Regions from separate parts of the Homo sapiens genome. Here region 1 is linked to region 2. Evidence: promoter capture Hi-C in human tissues and cell types (Jung and others, 2019). All regions are on one chromosome and are shown on one strand. Each heading gives the region's core, a stretch centred on a gene start or on the middle of the fragment in contact. The rest is flanking DNA. Distances are from core to core; before and after follow the strand shown.

Evidence for each region. The method cuts DNA at HindIII sites, captures the fragments that hold promoters and counts their contacts. A contact is called where the count stands out against the background at its distance.
Region 1: a contact is called between a fragment that was not itself captured here and the fragment with the promoter of ARHGAP20 in region 2, in 1 of the 25 tissues and cell types used here (H1 embryonic stem cells).

Annotation. Positions count from the first base shown.
Region 1 is chr11:110,439,658-110,445,804 of GRCh38, reverse strand. The region is part of intron 2 of FDX1 (ferredoxin 1); the gene reads right to left. Among named protein-coding and RNA genes, the nearest start is that of FDX1, 13 kb to the right of the region's middle. The HindIII fragment of the contact is 5,261 bases long and covers 1,112-6,147 here.
Region 2 is chr11:110,710,558-110,717,143 of GRCh38, reverse strand. It overlaps ARHGAP20 (Rho GTPase activating protein 20), which reads left to right and starts at 4,707. Exons shown (of 15, transcript NM_001384657.1): 1 at 4,707-5,017. The coding sequence starts at 4,913. RefSeq lists silencers at 4,596-4,755, 4,776-4,835 and enhancers at 4,359-4,860, 5,843-6,488. The HindIII fragment of the contact is 8,017 bases long and covers 1,666-6,586 here.

The sequences.
Region 1 (6,147 bases), core at 2,493-4,992, 270 kb after region 2:
GATCTTTACAGCAACTTTATGAGGTAGATATTAATATTATCCCTGCTTTACAGATGAAAAGATGAGTTATGAGTAGGTTAGATACCCAACCCAAGGTCACAAAGCTGAAAAAGGGATACAGCTGGGAAAGAAGCCCAGGCAGGACATTCTTCCATTCCAACCAATGACTTTCAGAAAAAACTTTATTTAACTGTGACTCACAGTACGAATTTCATTTTACATCATGACCCAGTACATATATACTTGTAAAATAGCTAAATAAACATTTCCTAAGATAATACCCTTGCAAAAGATGATATGTTTTTATATGTTCTTTTTGATTTCTTTAAAATGCTAGTTGGGAGTGACTAAATTGATTTCATGACCTTGTAATAGTTGTCACCTGCGGTTTAAAAAAAACTGTACTGTAATATATAGTCACAAGTGATGAAGAAAAAAATACTTTTAAAAACTTAAAAGAATACTTTCAAGTATTAAGATCATAATACTTATGTTTTAATTTAGAAGAAATTAATATAAAGCAATCCACACAAATTATTTATGCAAAAAGCATTTTACACTATTTTGAGAATATGTAACTTCATGTAAAATAGCAGTTGGAAGCCATTTAAATAAATGTTTAAAATTTTCATCTTCACAATTTTTATCAAATAGGACATTTAAAGAGCTTTTGCTAACCTATAAAAATAAACAATACCTCATCAGAAAAATAAGCAAATAATACTGCCCAAAGCAATTTACAGATTCAACACTATTCCTATCAAACTACCAACATCATTTTTCACAGAATTATAAAAAAACTATTCTAAAATTCATATAGAATTGATGCAGGGTAGACAGGCCCCAAAATTGGGGCTTAGCCCAGGAAGGTTCTTAGCTTTGCCCAGGAAACGATTCAGGGCGGGTCGGTCGTGTTAAATAGCAACTTTCATTGAAGCAGCAGCATACAGCAGCAGCAGAAGTAGGACTCCTTGTGGAGCACAGCTATCCCATAGGCAGTGTGCCCAGAGTGAGGCAGCTCAGAGGTTGTTCTGCAAATATATATATATATATATACGTGTATATATATATATATATATACGTATATATATATATATACGTATATATATATATATACGTGTATATATATATATATATACGTATATATATATATACACACACACACACACACATATATTTTCTTTTTTTTTTGAGACAGTCTTGCTCAGTCACCCAGGGTGGAGTACAGAGGCACAATCTCAGCTCACTGCAACCTCCGCCTCCCAGATTCAAGTGATTCTGGTGCCTCAGCCTCCCAAGTAGCTGGGACTACAGGTGTATGCCACCACACCTGGCTAATTTTTGTATTTTTAGTAGAGATGGGGCTTCACCATGTTGGCCAGGCTAGTCTCAAACTCCTGACCTCAAGTGATCTGCCTGCCTTGGCCTCCCAAAGTGCCAGGATTACAGGCATGAGCCAACGCGCCCGGACAGCACTTACTCTTTTTAAGAGACTCCGTATTCAATAATGGTGCTGGGATGCCTGGCTAGCCATAGGCAGAAGTCTGAACTTGGACTCCCTACCTTTCACCATACACAAAAATTAACCCAAAATGGATCAAAGATTTAAATTTAAGACCTCAAACTATAAAAAAGACAATCAAGGAAATACTCTTCTAGACATTGGATTGGCAAAGGATTTTTGGCTAAGTCTCCAAAAGCAATTGCAACAAAAGCAAAAATTGGTAAGTGGGATCTAATTAAACAAAGAGCTTCTAGACAGCAAAAAAAACTATCAACAAAGTAAACAGACAACCTACAGAGTGGGAGAAAATATTCACCAACTATGCATCTAACAAAGGTCTAATATCCAGAATCTATAGGGAACTTAAATCAATAAGCAAAAAACAACCTCATTAAAAAAATAGGCAAAGGACATGAACAGACACTTCTCAAAAAAAGCCATACAAGCAGCCAACAAACATGAAAAAAATGCTCCACATCACTAATCATCAGAGAAATGCAAATCAAAACCACAATGAGATACCATCTCACACCAATCAGAAAGGGCATTAGCTGTTGGCCAAGGCGTAGTGGCTCACACCTGTAATTCTAGCACTTTGGGAGGCCAAGGCAGGCGGATCACTTGAGGTCAGGAGTTCGAAACCAGCCTGCCCAACATGGTGAAACCCCGTCTCTGCTAAAAATATTTTAAAAATTAGGTGGGCGTGGTGGTAGACACCTGTAATCCCAGCTACTCAGGAGGCTAAGGCAGGAGAATCACTTGAACCAGGGAGGCAGAGGTTGCAATGAGCCGAGATCGTGCCATTGCATTCCAGCCTGGGCAAAAAGAGCAAAACTACGTCTCAAAAAAAAAAAAAAAAAAAGGATATTATTAAGTCCAAAAACCACAGACGGCATGTTAAATGATGTGGTGGGGAGGGAAGATAATCTAAATCCCATCATCTTTTTTTATACCAAAGATGCTAGTGCTGAAAGCTTTACATAATTTAAAACTTGAGACATTTTCCTACAGAAAAAAAAAAGGTAGCGGGGCAGGGCAGGGGTAAAGATGAATTTTCAGCACCCATAAACATCAGCCATTGCAGACTGAGGTACACTGCCACAGTTTTGTGTCTTCAACTATGTAACCAATTGTATTAGTCCATTTTCATGCTGCTGATAAAGACATACCTGAAACTGGGTAATTTATACAGGAAAAAGGGTTTAATGAACTTACAGTTCCACAATGGCTGGGGAAGCCTCACAATCCTGGCAGAAGGCAACGAGGAACAAGTCACATCTTACATGGATGGCGTCAGGCAGAGAGCTTGTGCAGGGAACCCCCCTCCCCTTATAAAACTGTCAGATATTGTGAGTCTTATTCACTGTCAGGAGAACAGCATGGGAAAGACCTGCCCCCAAGATTCAATTACCTACCACTGGGTCCCTCCCACAACCCGTGGGAATTCAAGATGAGGTCTGGATAGGAGGGGACATGGCTAGACCATATCATTCTGCCCCTGGTCCCTCCCAAATCTCATGTCCTCACATTTCAAAACCAATCATGCCTTTCCAACAGTCTTAACTCTTTTCAGCATTAATTCAAAAGTCCACAGTCCAAAGTCTCATCCAAGATAAGGCAAGTCCCTTCTGCCTATGAGCCTGTAAAATCAAAAGCAAGTTAGTTACTTCCTAGATACAATGGGGGTACAGGCATTGGGTAAATATAGCTATTCCAAATGGGAGAAATCGGTCAAAACAAAGGGGCTACAGACCCCATGCAAGTCCAAAATCCAGCAGGGCAGTCAAATCTTAAAGCTCCAAAATGATCTCCTTTGACTACATGTCTCACATCCAGGTCACACTGATGCAAGAGCTGGGTTCCCATGGTCTTGGGCAGCTCCACCCCTGTGGCTTTGCAGGATACAGCCTCCCTCCTGGCTGCTTTCATGGGCTGGCATTGAGTGTCTGTGGCTTTTCCAGGCATATCATGCAAGCTGTCAGTGGATCTACCATTCTGAGGTTTGGAGGGCAGTGGCCCTCTTCGCACAGCTCCACTAGGCGGTGCCCCAATAGGGACTCTGTGTGGGGGCTCCAACCCCACATTTCCCTTCTGCACTGCCCTAGCAGAAGTTCTCCATGAGAGCCCTGCCCTGCAAAAAACTACTGCCTGGAACATCTAGGCATTTCCATACATCCTCTGAAATCTAGGCGGAGGTTCCCAAGCCCCAGTTCTTGACTTCTGTACACTAGCAGGCTCAATACCACATGGAAGCTGCCAAGGCTTGAGGTTTGCACACTCTGAAGCCACGGCCCTAGCTCTACATTGGCCCCTTTCAGCCACAGCTGGGACAGCTGGGACACAGAGCACCAAGTCCCTAGGCTGTACACAGCAAGGGGGCCCTGGGCCCAGCCCACAAAACCACTTTTTCCTCCTAGGCTTCCAGGCCTGTGATGGGAGGGGCTGCCATGAAGATCTCTGACATGCCCTGGAGACATTTTCCCCAGTATCTCAGGGATTAACTTTCAGCTCCTCATTCCTTACCCAAATTTCTGCAGCCAGCTTGAATTTTTCCCCAGAAAATGGGGTTTTCTTTTCTATCACATTGTCAGGCTGCAAATTTTCCAAACTTTTTTATGCTGTTTCCTTTTAAAACTGAATGCCTTTAACAGCACCCAAGTCACCTCTTGAATGATTTGCTGCTTAGAAATTTCTTCTGCCAGATACCCTAAGTATCATCTCTTAAGTTCAAAGTTCCACAAATCTCTAGGGCAGGGGCAAAATGCGCTAGTCTCTTTGCTAAAACATAGCAAGAGTCACCTTTACTCCAATTCCCAACAAGTTCCTCGTCTCCATCTGAGACCACCTCAGCCTGAATTTCATTGTCCATATCGTTATCAGCATTTTGGCCAAAGCCATTCCACAAGTCTCTAGGGAGTTCCAAACTTTCCCATATTTTCCTATCTTCTCCTGAGCCCTCCAAACTGTTCCAATGTCTGCCTGTTACCTGGTTCCAAAGTTGCTTCCACATTTGGGGTATCTTTTCAGCAGCACCCTACTCCTCGTACCAATTTGCTTTATTAGTCCATTTTCACACTGCTGACAAAGACATATCCGAAACTGGGTAATTTATACAGGAAAAAGTGTTTAATGGACTTACAGTTCCATGTGGCTGAGGAAGCCTCACAATACTGGCAGAAGGCAAGAAGAAGCAAGTCATATCTTACATGGATGGCAGCAGGCATGCAGAGAGCTTGTGCAGGGAAACTCCCTCTTATAAAATTGTCAGATCTTGTGAGATTTATTCACTGTCACAAGAACAGCATAAGAAAGACCTGCCCCCAGGATTCAATTACCTCCCACTGGGTCCCTCCTATAACAGGTGGGAATTCAAGATGAGATTTGGGTGTGGACACAGCCAGACCACCAGTATTGTTTTCCATTACCCTTCACCAAGTGATTTTTTTGTGAGCTTAAAAATATTCCTACCGTAATGTCTTTTTAAAATCCTATTTTCTAAGTACTTTTGTCTTTACAGTATCTACACCTAAATTAACAGCACCAAACGTCAGGCTGATTGTTTAGCCTTTTTTTGTGTTAGATCATGTTTAGCATCCATTCCAATGTTATTGATTTGGGACATATTTCAGTACCACACCATCACTAAATGAAAGTTTAGTTAACACTGTTATGAGATATTAAGATTTAAATTTTTTCAACAGCACAACAGCCACAACTTCCAATGCACACAAACAATAGCATGGTTTACCCATTCTGTCAAAGATCAGAAAATATTTCTACCAGCTAAAGTGGCTCCACCATATGGCAGAAATCAAAAAATTCTTTGAAATAAATAAAAGCAGAGACACAGATACCAAAATCTCTGGGATGCAGCAAAAGTAGTGCTAAGATGAAGTTTAGAGCACTGACCGCCTATATTGAGGAGTTAGAAAGATCTCAAATTAACAATCTAAAATTAACCTAGAAGAACTTGAAAAACAAAAAACCCAAAGCTAGCAGAAGAAATAACAAACTCAAAGCAGAACTGAACAAAATCGAGACCCAAAAATCTATACAAAGGATCAACAAAACCAAAAGTTGCTTTTCTGAAAGAATAAACAAAATGGATAGACCACTAGCTAGATTAACAAAGAAAAAAAAAGAGATGATCCAAATAAGAATAATTAGAAATGACAAAGATGGCATTACAACCAATCCCATAAAGATACAAAGATCCTAGAGACTATTATCAGCACCCCTATGCACACAACCTAGAAAACCTAGACACACAGACCAAAGGAACAGAATAGAGACCCGAAAAATAAAGCCATACATCTAGAAAATCTGATCTTTCACAAAGTCAACAAAAATAAGCAATGAGGAAAGAACTCCCTATTCAGTAAACAGTGCTGGGATTGATGGCTATTATATGCAGAAAAATGAAACTAGACCCCTACCTATCACTGTATACAAAATTTAACTCAAAATAGATTAAAGACTTAAATGTAAGATCTAAAGCTACAAAAGTCCTAGAAGAAAACCTCAGAAATGCTCTCCTGGAAATTGGCCTCGGCAAAGAATTTTTATGACTAAGTCCTCAAAATCAATTGCAACAAAAACAAAAATTGACAAATGGGACCTGATTAAAGAGCTTCGACACATTA
Region 2 (6,586 bases), core at 3,458-5,957:
CATTCACTGTCTTCACTTCTTCCTCTCTTCTAAATCCCTGGTCCATTCATTTCACTCAAGCCTTTCCAGATAAACTCATCAATGACCTGCTGGTTGATAAATTCAGTAGATATTTTTCAGTCATCTTTCTTGACGTTACTGATCACTTTCTTCTTCTAGAAACACACTTCCTTCTGGCTTTGTTTTCCAAGTGAAGACTAACATCTTGCCTCACTCTTAACAGATCTGCCCTCTAATTTAGTAATAAAATAGATCCCATCTTCCTCTGATAGCTCCTGCCCTTTCTCATATTCATTCTGGGCCAAGCTTCTTGAAAGAGTAGTCTCAACTTTCTCTCTTCTCGTTATACTTTAGTCTTTACCAGCTTACTCTCTTGCAGCGGAAGATATTGTCGACCGTTTCTGTTCCTGAAAAACTCTATTACTTTGGCTTACTTTTTTTAAAAAAGCACCCACTTTGTGTTTCTCATTCCCTGGCCTCTTCTCTATGTCTCTTGCCACTTTTTCACCTTCCATTGCCTTATTTGTTTGTAGTTTCCCAGAACTAGGGACAGTGATGACTATGAGAGTGCATTTTCCTTAGGGTTGTTTTGAGCATTTAATGAAATAACACAGCTATGAGTCAGTTTTAGCTGACTGGCTCCTTGGAGAAGTTGAGTTTAAATGTTGTTAATTTCTTGATTTTTTTTTTCAAGAGAACCCAGAATTCTATTTGAAATATTTTGATTTTTAAGGTTAGTAATAAGTTTGAAAAGAAAGTGCATATGTTGAAAAACAAGCCAGAATTCGCCCAGATGGCCATCAGTTTGCAATCACTCATGTAGGGTATTTAGATAGCAGTGAATGATTCTTGTGTGCATCTTGGGGTTTGCAAGGACTATTTCTGGGGATTCATCTTGACTGTACCCCAAGCACCTGGCACGGTATCCTGCACATAAATATCATTGAATGAATGAGTTTCATGAACATCTTTTTTATTTTTTAATTAACAAACAGGGTCTCACTATGTCACTCAGGCTCAAGTGCAGTGGCACAATCATAGTTCACTGTAACCTTAAACTCCTTGGCTCAAGCGATCCTCCTGCCTCAGCCTCCTGAGTAGCTGGGACTACAGGCATGTGCCACCACACCCCACTATTTTTTTTTTCCTTTTTGTAGAGACAGGGTCTTGAACTTCTGGCCTCACACAATTCTCCCTCCTCAACCTCCTAAAGTGCTGAGATTATAGGCATGAGTCACTGTACCTGGCCCAAACATTTCCTTTTATAGTTAAATTTCTTCACTGTTATTTAATCTAATGGTTGGCAAAACCTTTTGGTTTCATTCTTAGTTTCTGCTAAAGGTCTGCTATTGGCATTTCCCAGCTGTTAAGTGTTGCTATTCCTAGTAGTTTGCTTTAAGATTTGTTTCGAAATATTCTGGATACTTTCTGCTTTTGTCAGACATAGGTCATCACACTCCCTTAACTGTCTTATCATTTTTGTTTTCTGGCACCACCCTTTTCTACAACATAACATTCCTAGTGCATGGAAAATAGTTTCACAGTCTAATGAATAGTCCAGAATTGTTTCTTTCCCATCAGAGTATCTTCCTTAAACTGTACAGCATAATAATGGAGATGAAGATGGTTGTTTCTAATATTGCATCCATTCTTTCAAAGGTAAGACATTGAAAAAAAATTCATTGAGAGCATACTTGTGTGCCTGGCATAAAGAAGAAAAGACAAAATACGATCTTCTATTTCAAGGCAAGTAAAACAGATGGTAATGGTATAATGTAATATGTGTTATAAAGACAAAGAAATACACACAGGAGAGGCAGTTGGCCACGTGGCTAAGAACACAGGTTCTGAAGCAGACTTCCCATGTTCTAAGCTCAGCAAGACTACTTACTAGCTGTTTGAGCATATTACTTAATATCCTTGTGGCTTGGTTTTCTCATCTATAAAATGGGGTAGTAAAAGAAGCTACCTCATAGATTATAAAGATATAACTAAATTAATGTGTGTAAAATGCTTAGAACAGTGTCTGGCATTAAGTAAGCACTCAATAAATGTTACCTGTTACCCACAGGTACTCACTGGCATTAAGTAAGCAATCAATAAATGTTACCTACAGTGGATGCCCCATGTGTATGGTTGGTGTGTGGAGGTAGCTAGATAAGGAGAAATAAAGTCAGGAAGATTTTTCTAAGGTAATTATTGATTCAAATCTGGGAGATTTATTTCCTCAACAAATATTTACTGGGCATTTACTATGCACCAAGTATTAGATATTTAAGTGTAAAGTAATAGGGGTTGGAAATATAGAAGGAAAACTTCCCACGCAATGCAAACAGCAGGTTCAAAGTCACAAAGATGTGAGAAGGCAAGGCGAGTTCTTGGAAGGTGACTTCTTGGCGAATTCAATGTGACAGGGAATAGGGTGAGAGTTGAAGAGGAGCAATAAATGACAAGAGAAATAAGTGGAGGCAAGGATGTCTGTTTATAGGCAGTCTTGCATATCATACTATGGCATTTGAAATTTATTCTGTAAACACAAGGAGCCAAAGAAGGGTTTAATCAGGGGAGTGATGTGATCAAATTTGTGTTCTTAAAACACGATTCTGGTGATAGCATTAATCTGAGCAAAGTCAGTTTTCTTTAGGTATGGGACAGTTTTCTATGCAAACCAAAACTAATGGGTTTTGAAGTAAAAGCACTTAAAAATTAAGAAGTAAGAGTGAGTTTTCCAAATCTGCAGTAAAATACTACTTTGATTTGGAACATGTAGTATTGATCACAGATCAAACCTGTGCAAAAAAGAAGATCACAAACAGAAACATGGGACACTCTGAGTGAAACAACCAACTCTACCAGTCTGGCCCTTCTAAGATCTATCTCATAACCCTTGTATGCCTCATTAATTCCCTTAGCAAACGAACATTTATTGCACCAGACACTGCTTCAAGCACTTGGTATACGACAAAGAACAACAATAACAACAACAACAACAAAAGCCCACAAAAGATTCCTGCCCTCTGGAAGCTTGCATTTCTCTGAGATATAGATAATAAACACTAAACATACTAAGTAAATTACATGATATATTAGAAGGAGATAAGTGTTATCGAAATAAAACAGAGTAAGGAAAATTGGGAGCGTGCATTTATGATAGGAACCAAAAGAGGCTAACGAGTTGTAAGTGGATGATTTCAGCAAGGAATGAAAGGAACTGCAAAGCCCTCTGCGTGTAGAATTCATGACAAACTCTATGGTGGGGGCAAAGTCCTGTCGCTGCACATGGGTCTCAGCTGCAAAAAGAGAGTAGCCATGAAAAACTGTGTGTGTATATGCACACATACATAAACACAATAATAGATGATTTACAAATCATACATGTGATTTATACGTGTGTGTGATTTATACGTGTGTGTGATTTATAAAGCCTATGTAAGCCTACTTTAAACAGTGTGAGGTGGACAAGGCTTAAAACGGGCTGGAACATTTTCCCCCTATTATTTCCACAATAAACCATTCCTGGGCATGGTGGTGATGTGTGCGCGCGCGAGTGTGTGTTGGACAGCATCCCTTCCTTGGAACAGAGCCGGCCAGAGCCCTATTCTTCTACAACCTGTCCTAATAACAGCCTAACCTGGCAGGAACCTCGATTTTTTTCTTCTTACCACAAAAGCAAACCAAACCCCTTCCACAACCTAATATCATAGCGTGGTGTCCTTCCTCACTAATCCGCCACTGCTTCTCTAGTCCTGACTCCAAGGGAAGAATGCCATCTACCGAATCATCCGTACCAGTCAACCAGCCCCGCAAAGTGCAGCAACACTCAGCTCAACGCGGGTCAGCTCCAAATCCTCTCCCTCTGATTATTCTTTGGCCTTTAAAATATTTTTGCCTCTATTTGGGCTGACAGGAAGTTATGCTCTCGGCGCAGATATCTGATAAACACTTCCACATATTGTAGCCTTCTCAATAGCTTAGCCAAATTTCGGCGTCCTCGCTCTGTCTGCATTTTCCTTCATTGCTCTTTCACGTTTGGAATGCCCCCGTCTCTGCAGCCTGCAGACAGCGGAAACCGCGGGTGCAAATGTGCAGGGGCCGCTGACATGACCGGCTGCAGAAGCCCACTCAGGGTTACCCGAACAGGCTAGCGTTCGGGATTGCACAAGAGGTCAGGCGATGCTGTGGGCTTCCAAATTTGTACAGCTGCGACACTCTGCGACGTGCCACCCTATCCCCAGTGGGGTGGGGTGGGGGATTCCCTCCGCAGTCCGCTGAAAGCGAGGCAGGAATCACTGCAACTCCTCTGCTCAGGCTGAGGTCGCCACCGCTCCGCGGATGCACGCGCTGCAGGGGCGCCTTCCGCCGCGGGCACGGCGCGGGAAGGGATGGGGTCTGGTGGGAGTGGGCAGGTGGCGGGAGAGGCGCGTGTCCGTGCACTAGAGGCCCCCGTGCGTGACACAGGCCGATGAGCTCCTGCGGGCTGCACCCACGCGGAGTCACAGACCGAAAAGGTCAGCCGGTGGCCGGTGTGCTAACATATATAGAGAGACGCCCGCCAGGCGCGCCGCAGGCTGGGACGAGGCTAGGAGGGCCCAGGCTGGAGGAGGGCTGAGGAGGGCTGCGGGGGCGGGCCCCGGCGCAGGGCGCCCGGAGCGGAGGGGGCGGGCCCGAGGCGGGGCGGGCCGCGGCGCTGACGGGCTGTCGCCGCTGCACTCGCCTCCAGCCCGCGGTGTCGAGCGCAGGCGGAGGTACATGGCCCCGACGGGAGGCGCGCGGCGAGCACCCGGAGCTCGGCTCCCTGCCTGAGCACGGCAGCCGCGCCTCCGCCCGCGCGTCCTCGCCCCTCCGGCCGGCAGCCCGCGGACATGATCGTGTAGCCTCCTCCTGGGCTGGGATTTGTTTGAAGATTTTCTTCATGGAAGCGATGTCCCCCCAGCAGGAGACTCTAGGGGGACAGCCGGGGCGCTCCTCTTCCCTGACAGGAGTGTCTCGGCTCGCGGGAGGCAGCTGCACCAAGAAGGTGAGGACGCTGAGCGGGGGCCCGTGCCCTCCGCCGCCGCAGCCCCCACTGCCGGCGCGCGCCCTCCGCGCCCGCCACAGCAGCGCGCTAGGCGGACGCCGCGGGAATTTGACGCTCGAGGCTCGCGGCCCCTAATGAGAGTCCCAGAACACTTCCCGCCCTTGACGGCCAGCGGCAGCGCCGCCGCCTCCCGCAGAGCGCCCGCTTCTCCGTTTCTAGAGCCTTAGTCTCTCCTCGAGCGACCTCGCAGCCTCCCTCCCGTCTCCATCCGCCGCCGGTTCTGCAGCCCGGCTCCTCCCTCAGTCTAGGCGCGCGGGCTGTAGTGGGCGATCGCCTTTCCCCGACCCCTCGCCGTGCCCCTGGGCCTCCCGAAGTGGCCTGGGCGAGCACTGACTGCCCTTTGGCGGTGTCAGCCCCAAAGTCAGGGCCGGCGATGTCTGCCCGGGAGCGGCAGCCGGCGCTGAAGAAGGTAGGCAGCGGGGCTGCGGCGCTGGTGGGCTCGGCCCCCTCACCTGCCCGCCGAGGCGCGGCTGCTCCATAGCAGTTTTCGGGGGGCAGATATGGGGAGTACTGCCCCCCACACCAGGGTCCTGGATGATTCCGGGTCTCCCAGGTGGGGGTCACAGTTTGAGGGGCGACTGTGGATGATAACGCTCGACACTACGGGGACATGTAGGTTCGGCTGGGCCTAGAACCGAGCAGGGTGGGGGCGGGTGGGCTGTGGTTGGGGGTCCTGAGGGCTGAGGTGGGGGACCTTCTCCCTGCACTGGTCCCTGGCCCCTGGGACTCTGGCCGGGCTGGATAGGGATCCGGGTGTCGGTGTGGGCGTGGGGGCAGCGCGTGTTCCCTGTCAAAGCTGGGAGAGGGATGCAGGTGACAACTTGTAGCGTTCCATTCCGATAAACACGGCCGCTGTGCTGCGGGAGGATTCCGATCCGGGTCAGGTTTCGCTGGAACGGTTCCCTGAGCAAGTGCACGTGGGCCGCGGGCTGCCGGCCTCTGCCGTTTCGCTCCCTGAGGAATTGATTTGGGTGTTTCTAGCCCTGTCTGCCTGTCCCCCGCCTCCCCACCCCCGCTTCCAGCATAAGACTTTCCGATATTTTGCCTTTTTTTTTTTTTTTGCCTTGTCTTAGTGGTGCCCTTCCAGCTTTTCTGGAAACAAGTTGCGATTAGAGGCATCTTCTAGCTTTTCCTTAAGAAATATCTTAAGGGATTGCATTTGTTTCATTAGAGACTTAAAGGGGTTACGCAGGTTCCCTGCTTGTCTTGATTTTACTGCCTTTCATAAATCTTCCCACCAGGATCTTAGGTTGGCTAGAGGTCAGTTGAAGAGAGGTGATCGGTGTGCCGAGTATAGAAATGTGTGGGAGTTCCCAAGGACCTTGACCGTGTCACGGAGCCATCTAGGGGTGTCCGTGAACTTGATGATGTATGGGCTGTAGTGCCAGCTCAGCCTTTGATGTATTGAGGCTGCGGTTTGTCCTTGTCGCTTTTCCCCTTCGGAGATGGAGGGAGTGTGTGTGTGTGTAGTCAAGTCTTCCCAAATAAAACGTGAATTTATCAGGCTAG